Regions from separate parts of the Homo sapiens genome. Here all the other regions are linked to region 3. The links are contacts of gene promoters, found by promoter capture Hi-C in blood cells and fetal thymus (Javierre and others, 2016). All regions are on one chromosome and are shown on one strand. Each heading gives the region's core, a stretch centred on a gene start or on the middle of the fragment in contact. The rest is flanking DNA. Distances are from core to core; before and after follow the strand shown. Region 1 has its middle 100 kb from the start of TMEM72. Region 2 overlaps TMEM72-AS1 (TMEM72 antisense RNA 1). Region 3 holds the start of CXCL12 (C-X-C motif chemokine ligand 12). Region 4 overlaps TMEM72-AS1 (TMEM72 antisense RNA 1). Region 5 overlaps TMEM72-AS1 (TMEM72 antisense RNA 1). Region 6 overlaps TMEM72-AS1 (TMEM72 antisense RNA 1).

Region 1 (4,311 bases), core at 192-2,691, 420 kb after region 3:
TCAGGAAAATTACAAAATCTGTAACTTTAGCAACAGTTGGAGCTTCATTTGCTGGGGCAAAGGAAAAAAATTATAAATATTATCAGTGTCACTAACATGAGTTTACTACACCTCTTCCACCTCCAAAGGCACTTTTTTCTGAATTCTTACCAAAAACCCATGTCCTGGTAATACAGCAGCCTTACACTTCCCTACACATGGCACTCCTGGGAGACTCAACCTGCAACTCCATCGTGTGAGAGTGGGATGTGCTTGAAGTCTTTCATCAAGGAAAAAATGTAAATTGGTATCCATCTGGTCAGATGATGAAACTGTTTTGTGTCCAAAATGTTAACAATAAAGTTCACTTCTTTGTAAACGATGATTTTATAAAATTGCAAGTAAATTGTCTTTGCAGAAAATTAATTGTGGGTTATCACTTGGACTCCAGTCACACAAGGGGGCTGTCTATGTTTCAGGGAGTGAGGGTGTACTTTCATTTGTTGTATTATACTCATACCCCAACTTTTTTGGACCTCATGCAGCTTTAGCCAACAGCAGTTTCTCTAAGCCGATGAGGTTACAACGCTGTGGAATGAAAAAGCCACTGCTGGCTTGTAATAGCGAGAACAGATGTTGACAAGAGAAGAACTTCCTGCTATGGGGAACAAAGGCTGCATTGCACTGCAACAAATGGAGAAAGTGCTGTCATTTGTTCAATTACTAAAACATAGCCCCATTTATGATATAATTTGGAATTCTGGTTCTACTGAGTTTTATGCTATTTATGGTTTTATGCCTGCCAAAGCTATGATTTTCAACTTGAAATGTGATCTTGTGTTTGACCTTGGAACTGGTGCTCTAAGGCAGCCTATTCGGTCCTTGTGGCCATATATTAATACTAACTGGATTTGGAAATCTGAGGAACAAACGTGAGTGTGGGATATTAAAAGCTACAAACTTATTTCCAAACAAGTATCCTCTGATCATACATATTTTGCTAGGTACCTAGATGGGAGCACCTTTTACTATCACACATGCTCCCAGGTTGTGTGTTAATAATGGATACAAGCTTTGACATTATACCAGCCCTATCCTGCATGAGTAAGATGTGTCACCAAATGTAGAAATATGGCAGGCTTCTTGGCAGACATTTCTGGATGAACTATTTCCAGCAAAAGCAGTAACTTATCAAGCAGTTCCAAGTGAAGTACCCAACTAGGAACCTAAATTTGCAATGACTGATAGACTCCCAGCTTTAAGAAATAAAACAATCACCAATTCTAAGCTGTATGAAGAGAAATCACCCCAGAATAAGAAATCCCAACCAGGAAATGATAAACCATTAACAAAAGCAGCCCTGAAAAATCAAAGGAAATATAAAGCTAAGAAAGCTACAAAGCAGGAAGTAAGAAGTGACAAGAGTCCAGATTTGACACCTACCCCTGTCCCCCAGAGCACACCCTGAAATACAGTGTCTCAGTTAACATCTGGAAACCCTGAGATAGATGAAAAATTCAAGAACCTAAAAAGCCAAAAGCAACTGACTCTCAGTTAACATCTGGAAATCCTGAGATAGACGAAAAATTCAAGAACCTAAAAAGCCAAAAGCAGCTGAACCTTGAAAGAACACAGCAACTGAAACACAGCTAGAAAAACAGTGAGTTAGAAAAATAAAAGATAGTTCCCTTCTCCAAGAGCTGGAAGATTTGAAAATGGTTACTTAAAGATTCACAGAGAGCAGATTTATTAGTATAAATCCATAGAAACACATCTGGGTTAAATCCAGGAGAGCACCCTGAATATCCATGTACCCACACTTAATGCTCAAACATTATATTAACCATTTACCTAAGCTTTTGCACATTTGGGAAATTATGTATTAATGACCACTAAGTTAACATCTTTCAATGCAAGTTATAGAAAAGACACATACAAATTTCTTAGGTAAGTTTGATAGACTAAAAGAGGAATATCAATGACATTCAGTAGAGACCAGTATTTACCATATAAATGAATATGGGTATTTTAAACTAAAACAAATAAATGTAACTCACTAGACTGTAATCCAAAAGAAGTCGATGAAAACAAGGCGAACAAAAGTTTGTTTCTGTAACTTTAGAATGAATATATGTTTCTTTCTCTTCAATCTATATTCACTCACTGATATGCTTTGGATGTTCATCGCTTCCAAATCTCATGTCGAAATGTGATCCCCAGTGTTGGAGGTGGGGCCTAATGGAAGGTGTTTGGATCATGGGGGTAGATCCCTCATTAATGGCTTGGTGCTGTTCTCATGATAGTGAGTGAGTTCTCACAAGACCGGGTTGTTTCCACCGTGAGTGGAAGCTTCTGAGGCCTCAACAGAAGCAGATGTCAGCACTGCACTTCTTGTACTATCTTCAGAATCATAAGCCAATTAAAAGTGTGTGGCATGTCCCCCTGCCCTCTTGCTCCCACTGTCACCATGTGACATGCATGCTCCCCCATTCACCTTCCACCATGATTGTAAGCTTCCTGAGGCCCTCACCAAAAGCAGATGCCAGCACCACACTTCCTGTACTCTCTGTAGAACTATGAGCCAATTAAACTTCTTCTTTTCTTTATAAATTGCCCAGCCTCAGGTATTTCTTTACAGCAATGCAAAAATGGCCTAATACAGAAAATTGGTACTGGGGAGTAGGGCACTGCTATAAAGATACCTGAAAATGTGGAAGCAACTTTAGAACTAGATAACTGACAGAGGTGGGAAGAGTTTGGAGGGCTCAGAGGAAGACAAGAAGATAAGGGAAAGTTTGGAACTTCTTGGAGACTAATTAAATGGTTGTGACCAAAATAGTGATAGAAATATGGATAGTGAAGGCTAGGCTGATAAGGTATCAGATGGAAATGAGGAATTTATTGGGAACTGGAGCAAAGGTCACCCATGTTACACTCTCCCAAATAATTTGGTGGTATTGTATTCATGTCCTAAGGATCTAGGGAAGCCCGATCTTAAGAGTGATGACTTGGGGTATTTGGCAGAAGAAATTTCTAAGCAACAAAGTGTTCAAGAAGTGACCTGGCTGCTTCCAACAACCTATAATCAGATAAGGGAGCAAAGGAATGACTTAAAGTTGGAATTTATATTTAAGAGGGAAGCAGAGCATAAAAGTTTAGAAAATTTGCAGCCTGGCCATGTAGCAGAGAATTTAACCAGGCTGCAGAGAAACCACTTGCTAGAGAGATTAGCATGACTACAACAGAGCCAAGTGCTAATATCCAAGACAATGGGGAAAAGACCTCAAAGGCATTTCAGAGATCTTGAAAGCAGTACTCCCCATTATAGGCCCAGAAGCCTAGGAGGAAAACAATGGTTTCAGGAGCCAGACCTGGGACACCACTGCCCTCCACAGGCTTGGGATGCTGCTCCCTGCATCCTGCCTGCTCCAGCTCCAGCTGCAGCTCAAAAGTCCCCAGGTATAGCTCAGGCCACCACTCCAGAGGCTGCAATCCATATGCCTTGGTGGCTTATGTGGTGTTAAACCTGAAGGTGCACATAATGCAAGAATGAAGGAGGCTTGACAACTTCTACCTAGATATTAAAGGCTATATGAGAAAGCCTGGGTGCCCAGTTAGAGGCCTGCTGCAGGGGCAGAGCCCCCACAGAGAACCTCTACTAGGGCAATGCTGAAGGGAAATGTGGGGTTGGAGTCCACATGCCAAGTCCCCACTGGGGCACTGCCTAGTGATGAGCTTCAGATGAGACTTAGTACTTTTAGCTTGATGCTGGAATGAGTTAAGACAGAAGAGTTGGCAGCGGGGGGATCGTATTTTGCAATGTGAGAAGAACATGAGATTTAAGTGGCCAGGGGAGGAGTTATAGAGTTTGGATGTTTGTCCCCTTCAAATCTCAAGTTGAAATGTAATACCCAATGTTGGAGGTAGGACCTAGTGGGAGGTTTCTGGGTCATGGGACAGATCCCTCATGAAGTCCTTGGTGCTGTCCTCTTGATAATAAGTGAATTCTCACAAACTCTGGTTGTTTAAGTGTGTGACACCTCTTCCCTCTCTCTCTTGCTCCCACTCTCACCATGTGAGATGCCTGCTCCCCCTTCACCTTCCACAATGAGTGGAAGCTTCCGAGGCCTCACCAGAAGCAGATGCCAGCACCACACTTCTTTTCCTATCTTCAGAACCATAAGCCAATTAAACCTCTTTTATTTGTCAATTACCCAGTCTCACATAGTTCCTTACAGCTGTTCAAAATGGCTTAATACACTCACCGAATTGCTCGGCATAAACTGAAGCAGTAAATTTGGGGAAAACTGAATTTCTTTCTAGTCTACTACC
Region 2 (4,740 bases), core at 472-2,971, 490 kb after region 3:
ATTCCCACTGCTCGAGTTAAAAATAGCACACACACAACAAAACCAAAAAAACACAGAATTACCCTTGGCCCCTCTCTTTTTCTCGTTCCCCACTTTCAAATCCTTTGACAAATTTGTCAAGCACATCTTCAAAATTTACCCAAAATCCAACCACTTCTCACCACCTATATAGCTACAGACCCAGCTCAAGCCGGAGTGATTTAGTGTCTGGTCCGATCCCCGCCGCCTTCACCCCTGCCCGTCACTGGCCCTCAATAGAGCAGCTAGAATCTCTCTCACACACCAACTCTTCCAGCTTTTTTTTTTTCCTCTTTTTACAACATTGGCCAGAACCTCAAACACTGTGCCAAACGGAAACAGTTAGAATGGATGTCTTAGTCCATTTGGGCTGCTATAAAAAATACCCTAAATTGGGTGGCTTATAAACAACAGAAATTTATTGTTCACAGTTCTGGAGGCTGGGAATTCCAACATCAAGACACTAAAATATTTGGTGTCTAGTGAGGGCATGCTTTCTGCACACAGTCTCACTGTGTCCTCATACAGTAGAAGGGATGAGGGGGTCTCAGGCCCTAACCCCATTCCTGAGGATTCTGCCCCCATGACCTAATCATCTTCCAAAGGCCGCACCTTTTAATACCATTATCTTGAAATTTTCAATATATGAATTTGGGGAGGCCTCAGACATTCAGACCATAGCATTGGACATCCTTATTTTGTTTGTAATTTCAAAGGAAATGGGTCTTATGTTTCTCCATTAAATATTAGGTTTGTGGTAGGTTTTTTTGAATATAACTTTTGCCAAGTTAGGGAAATTTCCTCCTGTTCCTAGTTTTCTATGCTTTTTTAATCATAAAAGTTGTTGAATTTCATAAAGTACTATTTCTGTATTAATTTTAATTGCCATGTAATTTTTCTTCAGTAGTCTTTTAATATGGCAATATTTTTAACAAAAGATTTTATGACAATTTTTCCAATGATGAGTCACTCTTGTATTCCTAGGTGGCATCCTACTTAATTATAATATATTCTTAACAAAAGATTTGATTCACTTAGCCAAGATTTAGTTTTTCCTTCAATGTTGATATACTAATCAATTGAAGTCTTCTTCTCTTTGTATTTATTGTTCTTATCTGATACTTGAGTTATGAATTACATTAGACTCATAAAATGAGCTACACAACTTTCTCTTCCCATCTTACGGAACCACTTATAAAGATTAGCAATTAACTGTTCCTGAAAATTTAGTAAGATTCATCTATAACCCATCCGGGCTTGGGGATTTGAGGAGGGGAAATCTTTGAATACCACCTTACTTTTCTTAGTAGTTATTAGTTTGTATAACTTTTCTAATATCTTCATCATTAAGCTTTGCCTCTTAGTCTTCCAAAACTGTTTCTATTGAATTCAGTTTTTCAAGTTCATTAAAATATAATTGAATGCACTGTGAGTGTTCAAGTAACAGGAAAATGCTGATCCTTTTAGCTATGTTCACACATTAATCTGGGCTTACTTGAATAGGCCACTCTTCCTCTCAGTTGAAACAGAAAATCGTGTTGTTTGATAACATTGTTTCCCTACATCATTCATGTCCCTAGAATTATGTAGGACAAATAACATTTCCAATAGATTGTGTACCCCACATCCCCCCTTAAAAGTCTATATTGTTTTAATAGAAATTCCCAGAGCCCATGGCTTGCCTGGCTTCTTTCTATGATGAAATGTGGGTGCATCCTTGACAGCCTTCATCATAGCCTTAGTACTGCTCATCACCAAGGGCTGCTGCTATGGCTCCCACATTCTTGGGATGCATCCCTCCCCAGTCAGTGCCTACTGCATTGCTCAAATAATAATGTTGCTATATTGATTACAATTAAACATGTTATCTCTACTGTGTTACAGTAAATCACAGATTCACCAGAGAGAACAGTTACCTAGGACTCCCAGTTAACAGTAATATCTTTCTGGCATACCTCCAGTTTGGGGAATGGCAAGCTGAAACCATAATAACTATTATTCACCGAGCGCCTACAATAAGCCTGACATAAATTGGCACCTGAGATGTGCTACCTAGAAGCTTTATTAAAACCACAGAAGGAAAGCCTTAGTACCTTTGGTTCATTTCTTTTTCTTTTAAAGACAGGGTCTCATTCTGTTGCCCAGGCTGGAGTGCAGTGGTGCAATCATAGCTCCCTGCAGCCTCAACCTCCTGGGCTAAAGCGATCCTCCCACCTCAGCCTCCTGGGTAGCTGGGACCACAGGTGTATGCCACCATGCCCAACATTTTTTTGTATTTTTTGTAGAGATAGGGGTTTCACCATCTTGCCCAGGCTGGTCTTGAACTCCTGGCCTCAAGCCATCTTTCCACCTCAACCTCCCAAAGCATTGGGGTTGCAGGCATGAGCTACCACTCCCGGCTTGCTTCATTGATGAAGAAAATATTGATCACATGGGTTAAGTGACTTGCCTGAGGCCACTTAGAGAGTAAGTTAGAGCAGGGATTCAAATTCGGATCCATCCATTTTTTAACTTCCCACTGAAATCTAGATATTTTTCAATAAAGAATTTTCTAAAGAATAGCCTAAAATCAAATGGTTTCTGCCAAATCAGGTATACCTACAAATTTTTCGGCCCCCAGTTACCATCTTAAGTCCTGGACAGCTATTAAGTGGCATGCCTATGCTGGCTCCTGCCTATTGAAAGCAGTTGTCTGGAGTCTTGCACTGAGAAGGATTGTGCAGCTGAGCTTGGGCTAAATGAGAAATTGCTGAGATTGGATTCTAATGCTGTTTGTATTTATCAGAGTTCTCCAGAAAAACAGAGCCATACGGTATATGTATACATACATATATATATATATATATATATATATATATATATATATATATATATATGAGAAGAGATTAGGAATTGGCTCACACAATCATGGGGGCTGGCAATTTTCAAAGTAAGCTGGCAGGCTGGAAAAGCTGGCAGGAGTTGATGTTGCAGTCTTGAGTTCCAGGACAGTCTGGAGGCAGAATTCCTTCCTCCCCATGGGACCTCGGTCATTTCTCTTAATGCCTTCAGCTGATTAGATGAGGCCTACCCAAATGATGAAGGGTAATCTGCTTCTCTCAAAGTCTACTGATTTAAATGTTTAAAAAATACCTTCACAGCAACTTCTAGACTAGTGTTTGACCAATCAACTGGGCAGCATATCCTAGCCACATTGACACATAAAATTTACCATCACACTATCAAGATCAGGAAGACAATATTCCGTAACAGTGGGTCTCAGACTTCAGCATGAATAGGAAGCCCCTGACGGGCTTGTTAAAGCATGGATTGCTGGGTCCCAGCCCCAGAGCTTCTGATCCAGTAGAGCAGGGCTGTCCCTGTGAGAGTTTCCTGAGATGCCGATGGTGCTGGCCCAAGGCCACACTTTGAAAACGCCCCTGAATGGCGTCATTGCTACATTGCTGAAGTGATTACGCTGAAGCATCATGAACAATCATCATACAATATGTTTCTAATCTACAGTTTCTATATAATAAAAACAATTTGAAAATTTTCTGAATGTCTAAGTTTTCAACAAGAAAAACTTTACTTTTAACCCAGGAAAATATCCACCCAGTCCTTAGCTTCTCATAAGATTATAATAAAAAATTGTCTCAGAATATTATAATAAAAAGTTGTAATCACATACCTTCAATCAATATTCCAAAGTAACAGAGACATGTCACTCACAGAATTAGGAGTTGGGCCACTTGGGTTGGACAAGGTCAGGTCACAATTCTCAATTTGTACAGCTGATCAGAGCCAGATCTCCTGATTCCTGGTGCGTCTCTCCCTCAGGCCTCGGTTTCCACGTCCATAAAATGGGATAGTTTGCTTGTGCTCCCTCCAGACCTGATAATTCTTCTACCCAGGGTTCACATATCTTGACTCAGTTTGAAGCAGAACATTCAGACAGGTAGTACTGTCAGAGAGGAAATGGTCTGCCCTGTAAGGCAGGACTGTGGGTGCGAGAATCTGCGCTGGAGGGCACCAGGTGGAAATTTCATAGGGAAGATTCAGATTGCAGATTGGACACTTCATTCCTCTCACACTGTGAACTTCTACAGGTCCCTGAATTACAGACCCCATTCCTGGGACAAAGCTTAAAAGAAAGAAACAAACTTTAAAGAAATATAGGAAGGTGCCTTTGTTACTATAATGATTATGGATATCTGTTGTAAAAATAATACTTATTGAGCCCATACATCTCACTTGCAGAAATCCAAAGCTATGTTATTAAAGCTGTTTCAGGGTTTCAGAAGATAAATAAATTGAAGGTCTCTAAACCTTCAGCAAAACTGTTCCAACTTGGATTAATCTGGAACTGAATGTCACATTGAATCCTGCCAAGGCTTGGCAGGGCCCCAGGTAGGAATGATTTACATTCCATCCAGAAAAGCGGCTTTGGGTCCTGGAGGAACCAGTGGTTTCAATGCAGCCCTGACCAGGATAGCTGGATGGGAGTGTTCCCCTGGGTGGGCTCAGGTGGCACAAGGGAGATGAGGGTCACCCAGTTAGAGTGCCAAAGCACTGCTCATCTCTCAGTCACTATGACTGGTAGAAATGCCACCAGTTTGTGCAATGAAACAAGTCTACATTTATTCCCTGTGAAGCTGTGATTCCTGGTGTAGCACGCACAATCCAAAGGTCAGAGTTGAGACTCAGTTCTTGCTCTGGGAGTTTGTGGACATGACCTTCAAC
Region 3 (4,736 bases), core at 2,147-4,646:
ATAGGATTGCAAGCCCTGGAGGGCTGGGATTTGTGTGTGCTTTTTGTTTTTCTTTTTTCCTTGAAGATTTTATCCAAGCCCCACTTAATACCCCAAATTATTTGAACTTGTGGATCCTTTCATCAGAGATTAAATATATGTCTAAGAATATTTGGTCCAGAGATTTTTTTTCTTTTTTCTTTTTTTTTAAGTTTGCCTGTTTACAAAGTTCTGAGAGACCTCTGTGGTTCTGAAATTCTGCACCTTTGGGAAAGAATGCTGGGGAAGTAGGAGGAAATCTTGAGTAAGGGGCTCATTTTATTTTATTTTTTCTACAGACTGCAATCAATTGAGGGATGATGTGGACTAGGAATTGCATTGTGTATTCAGCCACCAAGTTGCAGGAAAAGTGGACCACTTGTCCCCCCACTTCCTTGTCCCCAGGACCAAATGCAACTCCCTGAAAACCAGGAAAAAGCCAAGCATCAGGGTGCTGGTGACTCATGGCACTGGAGAGACCTAAGGCAGCCTTCACAGTTACACCTGATCTAACTCCAGAAAGGCACCTCTGGGGCCAGCTTCCAGCAGCTGCACTGGGACCCTGCAGGGGAAGTCAGCACTGCACTGTAACCAGATCACCTGGGAAAGCCACCCCCAGGGCCGGGGCCTGCAGCCTGGGTAACTGAGGAGCTAAACGCTCCTGAGTGTTGTGCCTCCAGGTTTCCCTGGATTTCTTTTGGGCCCTTCCAAGCTGAGGCAGGGGGTGGGTTGGGGGTGGAGCAGGAGAATAGGAGGCCGGTAGTGAGGCACAAGCCCCCTCCCGGCAACAGTGAGCTTGAAGATATGCAGCCAAGGGCAAGTGCTGCAGCCGCCCCCGCTGGGATGGGTGGGGCTGTGACTCTCCAGCGCCCAGAGGAGAGAAGCTCCTCTGGCCCCCCAACCAAGCAGTGGTGATGAGGCCAGAAATCAGAGCCTATTCAGAGCTCAACACACAGGCTCTCTCTCCTCTCCCCCTCCACCCCCTGGGATTATCCATTTCCTTCAAAAGCAATTCTTGCTTCTACTCCCAGGACCTAAGGCCCGCCTGTCAAGCAGCGAATTTCAACAGGTCTTTTTAAAGTGACAGAGCCCCCAGGTGTGCTTACCAAAAGAACATGGTCTCGTGTGTACCTCATGTGCTCCTTCCTCCAGCTTTTTGTCAGTAAGACTAACTTTCCCAACCGTTCTGGATGTAAATCCGTGTACCGGCAAGAGTCCTGACTGGCTCTGATGGTACCCCGGATTTGGGACCGGGTGAGCTTGGCTCCAGGAGTTTTCAGAAAGCCCTCCAGTCTAATGCAGAGACAGGAGCCCAGCTGGCCCCTCCAAGCAGGCTTGGGAAGGGGGCCCACCCTGAGTTTAAGCCCGGGAAACCCAAGGGCCCAGCTGCCTGACGGAAGTCAGCCAATGGGGGAGGGGCAGGACCCCTGGCCAAGCTCTCTCTGTAGTGCAGCTTGAGGACTAAGTGTGGGGATAGGGGGCACATAGGCACTGTGAGGTGAGGGGAAAACAAAACAAAACAAAACATTCTGGCGATGTGTGTAAGGAGCAGATCTGCCTGGAGCCCAGGCTCCTGCCCTGGTTACTTGGCTGCCAATGGGGCAACTCTGAGGGCCATGTCACCCTTCCCAGGCCAGGAGGAGTCTGGGATGAACCCCACGTCTCTGTGCTTCCCCCAGGTCAGTTGCACCCATAACTCAAAGACCGAGGTTCCTCATTCCAATCCTCTCTCCAGCCCTCCGGGGAGGGGGCAGCACCATTTCCCAGAGCGGCGCACTGTGACACCTCCGCGCTCATCCCACCAATCAGTCAATAACTGCCCAAACCAGAGACCTTACAGGAACAGAAGAATATCCAGCAATAAAAACTAGAAACATGCCCCATGACTTGCGGGGGGGGGGGGGGGTCAGTGTGCAGACACAGCCTCAGGGACTTTTCATCAACGACGAACATTCCCAATTGCCTTCAGTCTGTGTCCTTAACACTTAGGCAGTCCGCCACGACCCCAGGCTGCCCAGCTTCTCCAGCCCGACTCAGCTGCGCTGGTCCTGCTCACACCAGCGCACAGTCCAAGCCAGCTAGGACGCCGGGGCCACGTCTGCACCAACCCAGCCAAGGGCTCGAGGCGCGCTGGGCCTGCACAGCCCGCGGCTGCAAGAGCACTCAGAGTGTCCTTCAACTCTTTGCAGGAAACTTCACAGCCAAGGAAGCTCAGCGGCCTGAGCCACAGGGTTTTGTTTTGTGTGTTCAGAGGCAACAGTTTATTTTGGTTTGCATCGGTGTCCTGTGACAGCGCAGCGAGTTTCTCTTCAGCGAAAGAAAAGAAAAAAGCCCTCTCCCAGTGAAACGGGACACCACGGTTCCCAGTGGCCCAGGGCCTTGGAGATTGAACTTTGCTGCAGCTCTCATTCTGGGGCAAAGCGCTTGGCCAGCTGGTGACAAAAGAGCCTGTCTGCAGGTGTGTTTGGGGAGCTGGGGAGGGGGCGTGTGAGGCTCGGAGGGTCCCTGGGCCTCTCTCAGGTGAACCCGAGAAGAGACAGGAAGACAGCGGCTGGACGCGCGCCCAGGTCCGCGTCGCTGCGGACCGCGGAGCTGTGCAGAAGCGCGGCCTGGCGGGTGGCACAAGCCCGACAGCTGCGCCGCGCAGCCCGCCCGCGCCTGGCCAAGAGCCCCGCGAGGGTGTGGGGAGAGGATCGGCTTCGCAGGGAGCGGAGGCTGCGCGGCTGCATCGGACCTCACAGCCTCAAGTCGCGGCATGAGGCGAACTTTGCAAAGCGCGCTCTCGCCATGCACCGCCCGACCTCCAGCACTGTGCGCAGCAGGACCTCGGAGCCCATTCGCCTGTGGAAACCGAGCCCGCAGCGGGAAGGCAGTGGGTGGAGGGTGGGCAGGCAGGGGTCTGGGGTCCGCGGCTCCCCACCCTCGCGCCTTCCCGCGCCAGTCCCGAACGCTCTCTTGGGGCGTTCCTGCCCAGTTGTCCCGGCTGACCTCGCTCTGCAGCCAGCTTGAGGTCAGGCGGTCGCTCTCTGCAGGTCACAAACCCTCGGCGCAAAAGTAGGGCTTTGAACGCGACACCGCACCAGAGCGCCCAGCTAAGCGAGCTGCCTCCACCCCCACTGTGTCGGGCGGCGCAAACTGCGGGCGCAGGCAGAGGAGCCGCGGCTCTGCGCCGGGCGGGAGCCGAAGCCCAGAGCCTCGCCAGGGCCTCCCCGCCGAGCGCACTTACCGTCGCTGAGGCAGAGCGCGGTCAGCACGAGGACCAGCACGACCACGACCTTGGCGTTCATGGCGCGGGCGGGCGGGCGGGCGGGCGGACGAGCGCGGGTCGGGGGCCGGACGCCGAGCGGGCAATGCGGCTGACGGAGAGTGAAAGTGCGGCGGTGGGAGGCGCGCGCCGGGCGCTTTAGAGGGGAGAGCCAGGCGGGGCGGGGCGGGGCGCGCGGTGAGGGGCGGGCCCGGAGCCGAGTGCTGGCCGTGGCCGGGGTCTCTGACGCGCGACTCCCTCGGCGGCACCCCCCACCCATCCCCTTCGCCCCTCCTCCGCTCCCTCTGTGCTCCCGAGGCGCAGTGCGCTCCGGCCTTTGACCTTCTCAGGCTCCGCTGGGCCCCGCACCGCTGGCCCGGTCTGCAGTGAGGTCCGCAGCCTGAGCGACGCCGGCTGGAGGGCCGCTTATTGTCCCTGTGACAGGGCCCCACTGGAGAGACTGAGGACCTTAGGCGTAAAGTGGGGCGCGCGTGGAAAGCTGCGGGACGGGGCCTTTCGATGGCGGGAACTGAATGAGAACCAATGAAAAGCAAACAAGTTAGTCCCGGGCGGAGGGCCTGCTGGCGGTGGCGGCCCAAGGCAGCCGAGGGGGTCCTGCTTTCTGTGCGTGGGGGCTCAAGCTCGCCACCTGCCCGGCTTGCGGCGCAGCCGCCGGCAGAGCTCGATCTGCGGGAATGAGACCCGTCTTTGCAGTCAGCGTGGCTCGGACTCCAAGCCCACGGCGCCACCAGCCGAGCCTCAGTTTCCTCGCCTGTACAAACAAAGCAGAAGGCGCCGGCGGCTCTCAGTAAAAGCGAATGTAGCCTTTGTACTTCCGACCTCTCAATGGTGAAATGAGCTAATCACAGGCCCACCCCGCGGAGTGGGACGGGAGATTCAATGAGACCCGCCCCACGCCGCGAAATTCTCTGCATCGTGTCTGACAAGCAGACAGTACTCAATAAATGGTAGCTGTAAGTAAGTCCTTTAAACCTAAGTACTTACTGCCTTACCCAAGAAAAGCTCCGTGCGACCCAAAGAGCTGAGAACTCCCCCACCCCGACCTCCGACTCCTAGGACAGTACTACTGGCGTCTGCCTTCTGGGTCCAGAAAACTCTTCCCACGGAGCCGTCCCTCGGCGGTGCTTAGCCCTCCGGATACCCCCGAGACATCCCAGATGGCCCCAGTCCGGTGGCGAAGGGAGGGTGCAGGTCGGCACCCAGGAGACGTGGGGGTGAGGAGAGCGCCCCTTTGGGCCTCGCTTTGTGACCGCAGGCTGCCCCAGCCACCTCTCTGTGTCCTTCCCAGCACAGCGTCCAGCGAAGTGGGGTCAGTCGCCGCGTCCATCCAGGGGCCTGCCCTGGGGACACGTCCCTGTCCCTGGGGAGTCCTGGCCGTCGGGGAGTGGGCGGTCAGCGGCTGCATTAGGCGGGAGCGGTCAACAGGAGGCTGCGAGGGCTCCGGAACTCCGCT
Region 4 (4,540 bases), core at 1,308-3,807, 440 kb after region 3:
ATGGGGACAACCAGGAACAGGGAAGACTGGGGCTTCTCTAGGAGACCAGGCCCTCGCAGGAAAGAGAAGCCCCACAGACATGGAGGCTGGCCAAGCTTTGCCCATTGGGCAGTGCTATGGACTGAGCTGTGTCTCCCCCAAAATCTAAGTGTTGAAGCCATAATCCCCAGTATGACAGGATTTAGAGGCAGGGCCTTTAAGGAAGTAAATAAGGTTAAATGCAGTCACAAGGGTGAGGCCCTGATCCAACAGGACTGCTATCCTATAGGAAAAGGAAAGCACATGAGAAGTACACACACACAAGGAAAAATCCACATGAGGACACAGTGAGAAGGCAGCCATTGCAAGTTCGGAAGAGTCCTCACCAGAAACCAACCCTGCTGACACTTTGTTCTTGGACTTCAGGACCGTGAGAAAATGAGTTTCTGTTGTTTAAGCCACCCAGTCCGTGGTACTTTGCTATGGCAGCCCAAGCAGACTAATACAGTGAGGAGAAAAAATAAATTAATAAATAAATAAATAGCAAAACAAAACACAGCCACTTCCTCTATTGGAATAGCCAAGATTTTTCTTTTTACATACTATATGTTAGAAAGAGAGAGAGTAAAAATGTAAAGAAAAGTGTTGGCTTTTTTATTTTAACTAGTGCTTAGCAAGTTTAAAACAATATAAATGGTGAAGGCCATCACACACGCATCCCTTCATTTGACACTTCAGGTCACGGCATCTGTCTGAACCTCCATGGCTCATCCCATTCAACAAATGTTTGACTGAGCAAATATTTGACGGCAGGTCTTGCGGAACATATGTGTGACAGGGAAGGACTGACAGGGTGATGCCACAGAGATGAGCAGCAGGGACCCAGCTCAGCACTCTCCCTTCCGGGCAGAGCTGTGTCCTCCCGCGAGTGCGTCGGGGCAGAAGCCACAGAGTCCACGTGGGGTCCCTCTAGAGTCTGCACCTGTGAAAACAACTGCACCTCCCTCATCCTCCATGTGCGTGCCTGACAGGGCCTGGCTCTCTGGCCAGGGGCCAGGGGGAGCTGCCCAGAGACGGCCCTTCAACACAAGAGCAGCAGGAGTCAAGCAGGAAACCCGGAGAGCCACTCCCTGAGGAGGAGCAGCCCCAAGGGATTGTGGGGGGCCAGTGTCAGCTTGGCCTCAGACATCCCAGCACGGGTGCAGAGGAGCACAGCACTGTAGTCCCCCCAGCTCAGTCGCTGTCCCTGCTGCCTGACCCAGCTGCCCAGCCTCTTTGTCACTGGTCACATGATTCTTTCACAAAACAAGTAGAACAAGGCATGGTTGTATGAATTTCTAGCTCCCTACCCTCCAGCCTGGGTAGGTCAGGGCACCTGTCTGAACCTCCATTGCTCATCCCATTCAACAAATGTTTGAGCAATCATTTGATGGCAGGTCTTGCGGAAGATATGGCTTATAGAACACGAAGCACATGTTTCTTTTGCAATTGCAGCACATCTTACATGTATGTAAAAAGTAGCTCAATTAAACAGATGAGTGTTAATATTCAAAGATGAGGAAACACATTCTCTACATTGCTGATGGTGTTTATGTCTGCAAAGGGAATTCGGATTGGGAGGATGGATGGAAATTAGAGCTTGGAATCCACAATCAGACCAACACAGGCCTTTGGCGGCTGGGAAGAGGGTCGGGTGCCCTGATCTTCAGGGCCTCCAGCGCTGGGTTCGGGGTTCCTGACCAGGATCCTGAAGCTCCACCAGCTCGACAGCCTTGCAGAAAACAACAAGGGGGGCTCGGGCCTCTGTAAATATCTGTTCTTTTTCTGCTCACAGTCTCCACAGGAGGGGATGGGGCTGCATTTAGCTGCTAAAGCCTCTTCCTCTGTAAGTAGGATATTAAGGGATGGAGTCCAGCTAGATAAATAAACCAAGTCCCTGAGGCGAGACCCTTGCTGCCCCCGTAGACCGGAGAAAGTTCCCATAGTCGGACTCCGAGCCAGCAGCTGAAGGGCCTCCTCATGTTTCAGGATTCGGGAGAGGAGGGGCCACGAGGGATCAGCTGTGGATCACATCCCAAACGCCGCTCCTCTCTGGGCTAACACCGCTGGGCCTGGGGATCCTCGTGTGCGGAGGAGGACGAAAGTGTGCCGGCAGCTGGCTGGATCCTGGAAAATGCAGAGGGGAGGGGAGGGCCTGTGGGGACCCTAAAGGCCCCAAGGAGAGGCTGCGGGAAGGCCAAAGGCTGGCGCTCTTATTCCCAGGCATGCCAAGCCCCTGGCTCACACAGGCCTGTGGGGCTCAGTAAAGGACACAACACAACCCTTCTCTGGGCTCCTGGCTGTCTGGCGGGGGAAAAGAGTTGGAAAAAGAAGGCCCATATATCTTAAAATGATAAAAAGTGATGGCCACATACATTGTCAGATGCCTATGTCATTGTCACTTAAGGCATTATGGGGACAGATGGCAAGACAAGCACCATGCAATAATGAGTTCCAACCTGAGTTCTCCTGCTCTGCTAAGGGGTCCTGCGCGCTGGGTAGAGGCCAGGGAGACAGTGTTGATCCACAGACCTGGGAGGAAGAAGTCACCAGGCTCTGTGAGGATCAGCAGAAACCAAGCAGACATCCCACTGCACTGCCCAGGAACCTGGTGGGCATCACACATTTGGAAATACTTTTAGGGAAAGGGGGCAGAAGACAAAGGGGAGCAGTAAAGCAAGTAAGAGTGTCTGTCCAAAAGTCACCAAGAGCAGCTTACAAATCCTGTTCACAGGCGCTCTTGCCTAGACGCCCCTTCCCGGGTCCCAGCGCTTCAGCGCAGCCAGTGTCTTTCCTGTCTTTCCACTCTGAGTCCTCAGGCCAGGCCAGCTCCATGTCCGGGTGCCTTAGCACAGCCTTTGCCCCCAGCCGTGGGGTTGGGAGGCTTCACACCACTCGCTCCAGCCTGCTCCGGGTGTGAAGGCAGCACCTACATGCAGTCCTAACCCTCACCCTGCCTGGAGCACAGAGCCCCAGGTGAATGCTGGCTGGAAGGATTAGTACACTCATCATGTAGGACAAGAATACTATCCCCATTTTTGGACAAATAAACTGAGGTTTTGATTTTTTTGTGTATGTAATTATAAGAGTAAACTGGGAGTAGTTCCAGAGCTGCTTATTCTAAATCTCTCACACACTACCTTCTCAAAGTTAAGTGGAGGCACTGCCTTGATTGTTTCAGCAGGCCCACTCGAAAGTTGCCGGTGAAGGGATGTTCTGGTACTGAATTGAAAGGGAGACAACAAAAGGAGCCAGTGGCCAGTGAGAACACCTCAGAGGGTGTCCACACACCAGCCCCCCTGCTCTCTCCACCACAGGAGCGTTTAGCATTTGCAAATGTGAGTGGAGAGCCTCAAGATTTCGCCGAACTTGGAAAGCATCAGAGAAGAACTACTAATATCTCCATTCACTATGTGCTAAGCACCCTTTGATACACATTGCAGGGTTAAAAAGGTAAACCAAAGCACAGTAAAATTTTTAAAGAGTTTGAGCAAACAGGGATTCATGAATTAGGCAGCTCCAAAGAGGAAGTGGTTTGTGAGTTCCATCAAAGGAATGCAAGAAGGAGATTTCTATAATACAAACAGGGAAGTCAAACAAAAGAAAATATTTAATTGATTATGGATATGCAATTGGCTTATTGAGTCTATCCCACTGAAAAAACCTCTAGTTACATACAAGCATACCTTGGAGACATTGCGGGTTCAGTGACAAACTACTGTCTGCAAATACTGCAAATATCACAATCAAGTGTGTCACATGTTTTTTGTTTCCCACTGAATACCAGTTATGTTTATAGTATACTATAGTCTATGAAGTGTACAATAGCATTATGTCTAAAAAAGCAGTGCACATACCCTAATTCAAAAATACTTCATTGCTGAGAAATACTAATGATTATCCGAGCCTTCGGAGACTTGTAATCTTTTTCTGGTGGAGGGTCTAGGCTTGATGTTGACATGTTGACGGCTGTTGATTAATCAGGGCAGTGGTTGCTGAAGGTTGGGGTGGCCATGGCAATTTCATAAAATAAGACAACAATGAGGTTTACTACATCCATTGACTCTTTCATGAAAGATTTCCCTGTAGCATGTGATGCTGTTTGATAGTATTTTACCCACATTAGAACATCTTTCAAAATTGGAGTCAATCCCCTCAAGCACTCCCACTACTTTATTGTAATCTACATTTATATAAAATTATTCATCCTTTGTTGTCATTTCACAATGTTCACAGCACTTTCACCTGAAATAGATCCCATCTCAAGAAAGCACTTTCTTTACTCACCTGTAAGAAGCAACTCCTCATCTGTTCAAGTTTTATCATGAGATTGCAGCAATTCAGTTTAATCTTCAGGCTCCACTTCTGATTCTATTTCTTTTGCTGTTTCCACCATATCTGTAGGTGCATTCTCCACTGAAGCCTTGAATCTCTCATAGTCATCCACAAGGGTTGAAATCAACTTCTTTCAAACTCCTGTTTATGTTGATATTTTGATCTCCTCTCATGAATCATGAATGTT
Region 5 (4,580 bases), core at 1,823-4,322, 460 kb after region 3:
ACACTATCTGATTCAATTTACATAATATTCTCAAAAATGACAGAATTATAGATGTGGAGCACAGAGTCGTGGTATCCAGGGTCTAAGGAGGGGTGGAGATAGGAAAGAAAGTGGGTATGACTATAAATAGACCACATGAGGAATCCTTGCGGCAGTGGAATGCCCTGTAGCTTGGCTGTTCTGATGTCAATATCCTGGTGGTGATATTGTACTGTAATTCATGGTACCATGGATATACCAGGATTTGTTTAACCACTGAAAGCAACTGGGTAAAGAGCACATGGGGTCTCTGTGTAATATTTCTAGCAACTGCATGAGAATCTACAGTGATCTCAAAATAAAACTTTGATTTCAAAAAGAAAAAAATGTTTTTAATCCAAATATTTTTAATCCTAAAGGCATATGGAAACAGAAAATAAATAAATACTACGTTAATTCTTTTCACTACAAACGGTCTTTCATAAACTCTTCAGAGTTTTTCTGAATGGAGAATTGTAATTCTAACTAAAAGATCTACTACTTATCCTGAATGTGGAGTCAAGGTAGAGTTATCACCATCCCAATAAACTGCACATTTCACCTCTGCCTACGCCAAGGATCAATCAGTGTGTCATCTCCAAAACTCTACATCAGCTTATGGCCTGAAGCAGCCTGGCTTACGACATAATCATTTCACTATTGGTCACTAAAATAATCTAATTACATTCCATGAAAATGTAACTGGAAACAAGACATTGTTTGACAGTGTTTGTTGAAAACCTTTATCACAATATTACCCAGAGGGAAGTGGGAAGAAACAGTTTCCAAACAACTCAGTTTCCAAACCTGAACTCAGTAATAACCCCTTCTCTTTCACTTACATCTAAATATCTGATCCAGGTCTTAGACAAACTGTATGTGTGTGCTCATGAGCCGCAGCACACAGGAAGAGGAGCCCCACCATACTCTCTGCTGATGATGAGGTTTACTATTGAGAACCAGGAGGGACCTTCAGAGGCAGCCAGCCTTGTGGGCTCACCATACTCAGAAAGAAGAGTGAACACTAATTTAGCTGGTGTGGCCCTACTGCTCTAGTCAGACTTCCCACAACATTCTATTCAGTGAATCCATGGACTCCATGACATCACTCAGGGAACATTTGGAGTCCCCATAGCCTGTCAGTCTCAGCCAGAGACAAAAATCCAAAATTCTACTCAGCTAGCCAGTGGATGCAACCAAAGCTTCAAGCTCCAGATATCAGAGCTTCTACATTCTGTGGATCTAAAGCCTTGATCACCACCCTAGGACTTGAGCAGCCCCTGGAGTTAACGTCAGTGTTCTTTCCTCAGGAGCCATCTTTCATCTGCCTGGAGACCTGCTTCCATGCAGAGTAGGACAGCTCTCCATTTGGAGATGACTCCATCGAGCTTTGTAATTTCCATAACAGGAAATTAGACCAAAGACAATGAAGGCCTTAATGGGTAGGCTGCCCCCACTGTGTCCGGAGTCACTGAGAACTAGGCATGGCAGGTGTTAGCATGCCCCTACCAGATGGAAGGGTGCTGTCCTGTGGTGATAATGTTAGGCCCCCATGCCCCAGTGCCCAACCAAGCCAGCGCCTTGCTCCTGGTCATCACCACCAAATAGATCCAGTCGCTAAGACTGGGTTTCTGCTCTGTCTCTAATTTTCTATTCTAGTTAACTAGAATAGAAATAGAATAGGCTGTAACCCTATTCTTCTGGCCTGTCCCCGCCTCCTTTTCTCCAAGGGCTGAAACCTAATTCCTTTATCTCCCAGCTACTGACAAGATGTTATCACTCACCTGACTTTGGGTTTTGCCAATTCTCAAAGATTCAAAGAGGCCATAAGATAGAAACTCTTGTGATTTTTCTTCAAACAACCAGACCCACAAAAAAAAGGCAGAAAGAGAAAAAAGAATCTTGAATTAGACTCATCTTGGATAACCCTGGACAACAGGGATATTTAATTCAATTCAACTCAACAAAAACATCTCAAGTTTCCATGTGTGTCTGGCATTTTTTCAGCTTTTGGAATAGTAGAGATTAATACAACACAGCTCTTGCCTGCCCCAAGTGTGTTGCTAATTGGGAAAACATACATATAAACATAACTCCTTAATTTAATATAGCACATAATGTGGCTGGAGGGTTTCATAAAATATGAATTTTTGTTTCATCAAGAGTAGTGTATGGGTCCCACAGAGGAGGACAAAGGGAAAGCAGGGGAGAAAGGACTGGGCAAGAGCCAAAAGAGGGAGAAAGAGAGTCCCCAGCACTAAAAAGGACACATTAGATGGGGTTGTGTGAGCAGCAGGCACCTGCACTGCTCCGGGGGGTGGCAGGACCTCCGAGGGAGCTCCCTGGGGGTTGGCTGCAGGGAGACTGCCCGCAGGTCCCAGCAAAGAGCCCCACACGCAAGCCTCGGATGGGATCCTGGCACTGTCTGCTTACCAGGAGCCAGGCCAGACAAAGGGGAACCAAGGTGTGGAGCACTGGACAAGGAGTGAACCAAAGGTGGCCAGTTCGGCCATGAATAGAGTCCTCCCAGATGCCCTCCTCAAACTAAGTTCCCCTTCATAGACTTTTGGGATGAGTGGAACAAACCCCAGTTGTAGAGATGAGGGAGATTTCTGCCAGCCCTGGCAGAAGTGGGGCAGAGAACTGATTATAATCGATTGCATAAAAATAAAGCTCTATGACTATTGTGCGTGTGTGTGTGTGTGTGTGTGTGTGTGAAGTTTTTTTTTTTTTTTTTTGAGACAGTCTTGCTCTGTTGCCCAGGCTGGAGTGCGTTGGCACGATCTTGGCTCACCTCCCAAATTTTCCCACCTCTGCCTCCTGGGTTCAAGCAATTATCCTGCCTCAGCCTCCCGAGTAGCTGGGACTACAGGCATGCACCACCACACCCAGCTAATTTTTGTATTTTTAGTAGAGATGGGGTTTCACCATGTTGGCCAGGCTGGTCTCGAACTCCTGACCTCAGGTGATCCACTTGCCTCAGCCTCCCAAAGTGCTGGGATTACAGGTGTGAGCCACCACGCCTGGCTGTGAAGATTTAAAACCACTCTACAGTGATAAGCACAGGGTATAGAAGAAATATGGTGGAGGGCACCAGACCCAGATGTGGACTCCTATGAAATCTGCATGGAGAAGCTGATGGGAAGACTGAGTCTTGAAGCATGAGTTAGAGAGAATCTGGTAAGGAAGGGGCATAGAGGGAGATCCAAGTGAGATGACGTGTGTGGGGGTGGGGGAGACTGAAGGGAAATCTCAACAGAGGGCCCCCCCCCAACGGATCTGCCTCTGGATCCACCTCCACAATGCTCTTAGGTTTGGCACACTGCTGCTTCCTACCTTCTATTTGCAAGCAGCCCGTGATACCTGGCAACATGTTTGCATGGCCCACTCTGACCCTCTGTCTCTTGCTCAGGAAATACCCTAGAACCACAACCATAAGAGCATCTCATTTACTTTGCAGCTAATTTAGGATTCATAATCTTTCATCAATATTAGGATGATAGAACATTTGAACTGAAGATTTAACAACTTTGTTCAAAATTGTTCTTTTGCAGATGGCGAAATTTATTTAAGACCAGAAATGAGAAATAACCTGTCACTTGTCATGCATCCAGAAAGGGGTGGAGTTGAAATCTGCATCCATGTCTCCTGATGGCTAATCCTTTGCTGGAGGGTCAGCAGCTGCTTTGTAGAACTGCAAGGGGCAATATTCAGCTTGTGTTCTATGAGGTTGGCTCCCCAGGTGCCCCTCAGAGTTGTGTGATGCCAAGCCCTGAGGCCATGCTGCACTGCCTCCAACAAAGGGCAGCCGACACTGGCCAGATGCTCACAGCTTCACCAGCTTCACAGCTTCACCTGGGCATCAGCTTCTCTGCAGTGTCCATGCCCAACACATTGGGAGTTAGCAATGGTGTGAAGAAATGGCAGGAAATTGTACCAGGCGTTCCCACCTTCGGGCATGAAAGGGCCCAGTGTCAGGGAAAAGCATAGTGCCTTCTTCTGCCACAGAAATGAGCTAGGCAGGGAGAGGAATCAGAGATGACTCTGTTTCCCTTCTTGTTCTATCAACCACCTCCCAAATTATCCCACCTCCAATTCTCTGCCACTGCCATCAAGAAGCCAAAAGACAAGCATTTGAAGGAGATGTCCCAGGACGTAAGTGGAGGGCAGAAAATGTGCTCTTGTCACTGGAGCAGCAGAGGCCAAGGAGATCCTTTAACTCCCCTCACCCTGGACACCAGCCTCCAGCCCCAGGTGGCATGCATCCTGAGGGTGCAGTGGTGGGCTGAAGAACTGTCTTTAAAAACGCACTTTTCCTAGGAAGGGGGAACTTGAGAAGCTCAGAGCATTGGAAAGTAATGAAAGCCTTCTTGATGGAGAAGCTAATAAAAAGGAGAGACCCACGGACAGCATGGAGGGGGCCAGGCCCAGAGCCCAGGCAGGCAAGAGCTTTCCAGCCAAGGGTGACTCCCAACTGGCTGGAGAAGGGAACTTTGTGACAACTGGCTTGTGTTTGGGCTAGAGCCACTCGGAGGAGTCTTCAAAGAAAAGTAAAAAGTGGG
Region 6 (4,388 bases), core at 365-2,864, 510 kb after region 3:
TATGTCCCTGTGACTTGTTTAGTCATCTATAAAATGGGACCAGCAACGTCACCAGCCCTACCCATGCAACAGGACTGTGGGACATCACAGATGGGACCTGCTGGAACTCAGGGGAAACATCATGAACTCACCCACAGCTGCCTTTGCTCTCCTTTTTTTCTTATAATAAAATGTACATAACATAAAATTTACAATTCTAACAATTTTTAAGTGGCATTGGGGACATCTACAATGTTGTGCAATCACACCATCATCCACCTCCGGAACTGTCTTATCTTCCCCAGCAGAAACTCTGTCCCAATTAAATGGTAACTCTGCATCCTCCCCTGCCACAGGTCCCTGCAGCCTCTATCTGACTTTCTGTCCCTAAGAATCTGCCTATTCTAGGTAGCTTCATATCAGTGTAAACACATCATACTACATTTGTCCTTTTGTGTATGACTTATTTGAGTGAACTTCACCTGGAAGTGGGATTGCTGGATCCCATGGTGATTCCATTTAGTGTTTAACTTATTATTTTTAATTTGTATGGATACATCAGGGTTGTACATATTTATGTGGTACATGTACTATTTTGATATATGCGTACAATGTGTAACGACCAAATTTGGGTAACTGGGATATCCATCACCCCAAACATTTGTGTTGGGAATGTTACAGATCTTCTCTGCTCGCTATTTTGAAATACATAATAGACTGTTGTGGGGTGGGGGCAGGGGGGAGGGATAGCATTAGGAGATATACCTAATGCTAAATGATGAGTTAATGGGTGCTGCACACCAACATGGCACATGTATACATATGTAACAAACCTGCACATTGTGCACATGTACCCTAAAACTTAAAGTATAATAATAAAAAAAGAAATACATAATAAATTATGGTTCACTAAAGTCACCCTACTGTGCTATGAAACACTAGAACTTATTCCTTCCACCTCTCTGTATCATTTTAACCATTGACCGATCCCTCTTCATCTCTCCTCCCTGCTACCTTCCACAGTCTCTGGTGTCTGTCATTCTACTCTTTACCTCCGTGAGATCAATGTTTTTAGCTCCCAAGTATGAGTGAGAATGTGCAATATTTGTGTTTCTGCATCAGGCTTATTTCACTTATGTGTTTGCCTTTTGAATAACTGTCATGCTGTTTTCCACAATGGATGTGCAATTTTCCATTCCCACCAGCAATGCACAGGGCTCCAGTTTCTAAACGTCCTCGCCCACTCTTGCCTTTCCCATTCTTCTGGTAGCAGCCATCCTAATGCATGTGGACTGGCCTTTTGCTCTATTCTATGCGTATTGTCAGATTGCATCCCACACGCATCCATCTCACGCCTATGTTGGTCTAAAGCGTTCATTTGTGGTGTGCTATTTCTGGACTATGCACTGTTTCTGTACTGTACACCAGCCTGTGTACCCTATACTTTAAGGGCAATGTAAGGCATTGCCAAAGTTAATCTCAACAAATTTGTAACTGTCTCTATGTTTCTTTCCTTAGAAACAGAGGTGACAGGAGCTACTAGCCTGTCTAGAAAGCTTGGTAATATGTCACTCTCAGACTAGGGATTCTGAGGGTCAGTCCCAGTGCTATCATACTGCCAATCTCTCTTGCCCCAATCTGCCTCTCCTGTGCACCCCAGAAGAGGAAGCACAAACCAGTGCCAGGGAGGACAGCAAGGCTCAGGGCAATGCACCCAAGCTTTGCTCTCATATTTATGGACCATTGTTCATTTTCAAAATAATTGGCATCAACATGAATGGGTAAAGAACAAGAGAAAATAACCCAGGGCCCTGTAATCTGTCCCTGGCCAGACTCGCCTGGTCCACATCCAATCCTCCACATACATTAACCTCAAATAATAAATAACCTAAGCCCTAGAGCAGGACACACTCACAGTATAATTCATATCTCAAAATCCAAGCAAGTGCCAAACAGCGGCCAACACTATGAATATAAATTCCAGCTTGTTCATATGCTGACATTCTAAAGTCTGACAAGAGTGAGCAAGAAGGTGTTTTTCCTAGCTAATGAGTTGAACTCCTTCAGATCTAGAATTTTTATAGAGGTGCGCTCTTGGGAACCTTGACAAGAGCTAAGAGCTTGGGAGAGGATGCCCATGTCCTTGCTAACGGATCATTTCCCTTGCTCAGCAAGTTTTCACCTCATTTTACAATCTCAGGGTGTCTGAGGTGGAAGGATGTTTGTGATGCTCATTGAACAGATGAGATCATCAAGGCCCAGAGGGTTGATCCGAGGTGAGCAGGCCCCACACCTGTCACTCCCAGGCCTGCAAGATATATTAAGGGCAGCACCTGCCATTCCTCAAATGGGAGAGTTTAATTTGAGGTCATTGACAAATCTGTTCAAAGAAACTGACATTTGAGTCCAAGCTGACTTACTTGGCAAAAAAAAAATATATATATATATATATGTATATGCACATATACATTTTTGTGTGTGTGCCAGTGTGGGGGCTGAGACATGACACCCCTTCCATAGAAATATGAAATATATCATTGTGCCGCGGAGGACCCAGAAGGAGGGGAGTCAGGAGGGACTGGAAACTGGGAGGCATGAGAAATGGCCCTGGAAGATGGCACCATGGCCAGCTCCCAGGAGCACACAGCCTCCTGCCTCAAGCATGGGCACCCCAAGCTCCTAGGACAAGAGAGAGGGAATGACCCCCAGGGAGGGCACACAGCCACCCTGAGCTGCTGCTCCACCTCTGATCCATGAGTCAAGTGTTCCTGTCACTCCAGGTCCCTCTCAGTGCCCTGGGCACCTAGACTAAAAGAGGCCCTGAGAGGATGAAGAGCTGAGTCCCATGGGCTCAGGTAGTGCCGGGGCTGTCACTTCGTGCAGACTGTGCCTCATGAGGAGCAGGGTCAGAGGGGCAAAAGTCCCCCACATCTGATGGGCTTGGGCTGGGATGCAGCAAGATCCCCCCCAGGCCCCCACTCTCCCTTTGACAGGACAAGTGGGAGAGCAGCTGGCATGGGGGCAATAAATATTTTGAGCACAGGTGCCAGCTGCTTAGGCAAGGACAGAACTTGGGACACCTTCCTGAAGGAGGCAGGGTTGGGCACAGCCCCTCAAGCTGGTGGTGAGGAGTCCCTGGCCCGAGTGCATTCCTTGCCCTAGAGAGAGATTATCCTGCCTGTTCTGCAGCAGCAAGAGAGGGCAGGCCCCAGGCAACAGGAAGGCCAGAGCAAGCCTAGTGTGGACAGGGCAGCAGTGAGGTAGAAACAGCCCCACCCCACCACTTCACAGTGACCACAGGCCCAGCACCTGCACATTCCATCTTCATTTAGCAGTGACCGCGGGCCCAGCGCTGTGCCCAGCACCCACATATTCCATCTTCATTCAGCAGTGACCATGGGCCCAGCACCATGCCCAGCACCCACATTCCATCTTCATTTAATAGTGACCATGGGCCCAGTGCCGTGCCCAACACCCACACATTCCATCTTCATTTAATAGAGACCGCGGGTCCAGCACCGTGCCCAGCACCAGTATATTCCATCTTCATTTAGCAGTGACCACGGGCCTAGCGCCATGCCCAGCACCCACACATTCCATCTTCATTTAGCAGTGATCACGGGCCCAGTGCTGTGCCCAGCACCCACATATTCCATCTTCATTTAGCAGTGACTGCGGACCCAGTACCCGCACATTCCGACTTCCTTTAGCAGATACTGGCAGGTGCCACTCCTGCTTTGCCTGCAGAGATGGTCCTTTGCTTTCCGGGCTCTAGGGACTACAGAGAGAACAAGAATGGTATGATGCTGCCTCATCTAGAAAGGGAACCCACTGTGTGTTCTGACATAGCAGTCCCCTCCCAAGGGAGCTGTGGCTGTCATTCATGTTTCAGGAACAATACCTCAAGTCAAACGGTGCCCAGGAGAAGGATGCACCTGCTGCATAGGCTTTAGTTTGCTGAAAGAAGCCAAGGCTGAGAGGGAATTAGCAACACTAGGAAGGAGAGAGGTTGGGGATGGTGGGGTTCCTTTCTGTAAGTAGCAGCAGCTTGGTCTCCCTCCTTGCAGAGAACTGAGAGAGGATAAAGACTGCTCTGTCAGGGTAATAAGCCTTCTAAAGCTAATGACTTAAATGCAGCTACTTATTATCTCCCAGTACTGCAGATTGGCAATTTGAGGCAGACTCAGCTACATGGTTCTTTGTGTGCTTCTGCTGCTGGGTGGGCAGGGGCTGACTGGTCTGGGGGGCGCCTTGCAGTTGGGCCCACAGTCTCCCTGCTCCTCCAGCCAGCTAGCCAGACTTGCTCCAGAGGCAACGGGGTGGGTTCAGGGAGAGAGAGAATGCAGGGCATGGAGGTCTTGCAGCCAGATGCAGGTCCAGAGCTGGCCCCTCATCACTCCACTATTGGC

The links. The method cuts DNA at HindIII sites, captures the fragments that hold promoters and counts their contacts. A CHiCAGO score of 5 or more calls a contact.
Region 1: a fragment that was not itself captured here is called in contact with the fragment with the promoter of CXCL12 in region 3 in 4 of 17 cell types (M0 macrophages, M2 macrophages, M1 macrophages and 1 more); the score reaches 10.1 in M0 macrophages.
Region 2: a fragment that was not itself captured here is called in contact with the fragment with the promoter of CXCL12 in region 3 in 8 of 17 cell types (M0 macrophages, endothelial precursors, megakaryocytes and 5 more); the score reaches 13.5 in M0 macrophages.
Region 4: a fragment that was not itself captured here is called in contact with the fragment with the promoter of CXCL12 in region 3 in 3 of 17 cell types (endothelial precursors, M2 macrophages and M0 macrophages); the score reaches 6.6 in endothelial precursors.
Region 5: a fragment that was not itself captured here is called in contact with the fragment with the promoter of CXCL12 in region 3 in 7 of 17 cell types (M0 macrophages, endothelial precursors, M1 macrophages and 4 more); the score reaches 11.8 in M0 macrophages.
Region 6: a contact is called between a fragment that was not itself captured here and the fragment with the promoter of CXCL12 in region 3, in 4 of 17 cell types (M1 macrophages, endothelial precursors, M0 macrophages and 1 more). The highest score is 7.9, in M1 macrophages.

The regions. Positions count from the first base shown.
Region 1 is chr10:44,806,518-44,810,828 of GRCh38, forward strand. It overlaps the pseudogene EIF2AP4. Among named protein-coding and RNA genes, the nearest start is that of TMEM72, 100 kb to the right of the region's middle. RefSeq lists an enhancer at 2,814-3,476. The HindIII fragment of the contact is 784 bases long and covers 1,050-1,833 here.
Region 2 is chr10:44,869,947-44,874,686 of GRCh38, forward strand. All of the region lies in intron 2 of TMEM72-AS1 (TMEM72 antisense RNA 1), which reads right to left. Among named protein-coding and RNA genes, the nearest start is that of TMEM72, 39 kb to the right of the region's middle. The HindIII fragment of the contact is 708 bases long and covers 1,368-2,075 here.
Region 3 is chr10:44,381,701-44,386,436 of GRCh38, forward strand. It overlaps CXCL12 (C-X-C motif chemokine ligand 12), which reads right to left and starts at 3,397. Exons shown (of 3, transcript NM_199168.4): 1 at 3,245-3,397. The coding sequence starts at 3,305. RefSeq lists enhancers at 953-1,646, 1,647-2,340, 2,341-3,032. The HindIII fragment of the contact is 14,357 bases long and covers 1-4,736 here.
Region 4 is chr10:44,826,695-44,831,234 of GRCh38, forward strand. TMEM72-AS1 (TMEM72 antisense RNA 1) reads right to left here. Exons shown (of 8, transcript NR_033842.1): 4 at 4,306-4,540. Among named protein-coding and RNA genes, the nearest start is that of TMEM72, 82 kb to the right of the region's middle. RefSeq lists an enhancer at 2,493-3,356. The HindIII fragment of the contact is 4,928 bases long and covers 94-4,540 here.
Region 5 is chr10:44,843,538-44,848,117 of GRCh38, forward strand. All of the region lies in intron 2 of TMEM72-AS1 (TMEM72 antisense RNA 1), which reads right to left. Among named protein-coding and RNA genes, the nearest start is that of TMEM72, 66 kb to the right of the region's middle. The HindIII fragment of the contact is 3,708 bases long and covers 1,219-4,580 here.
Region 6 is chr10:44,891,654-44,896,041 of GRCh38, forward strand. The region is part of intron 2 of TMEM72-AS1 (TMEM72 antisense RNA 1); the gene reads right to left. Among named protein-coding and RNA genes, the nearest start is that of TMEM72, 17 kb to the right of the region's middle. The HindIII fragment of the contact is 163 bases long and covers 1,534-1,696 here.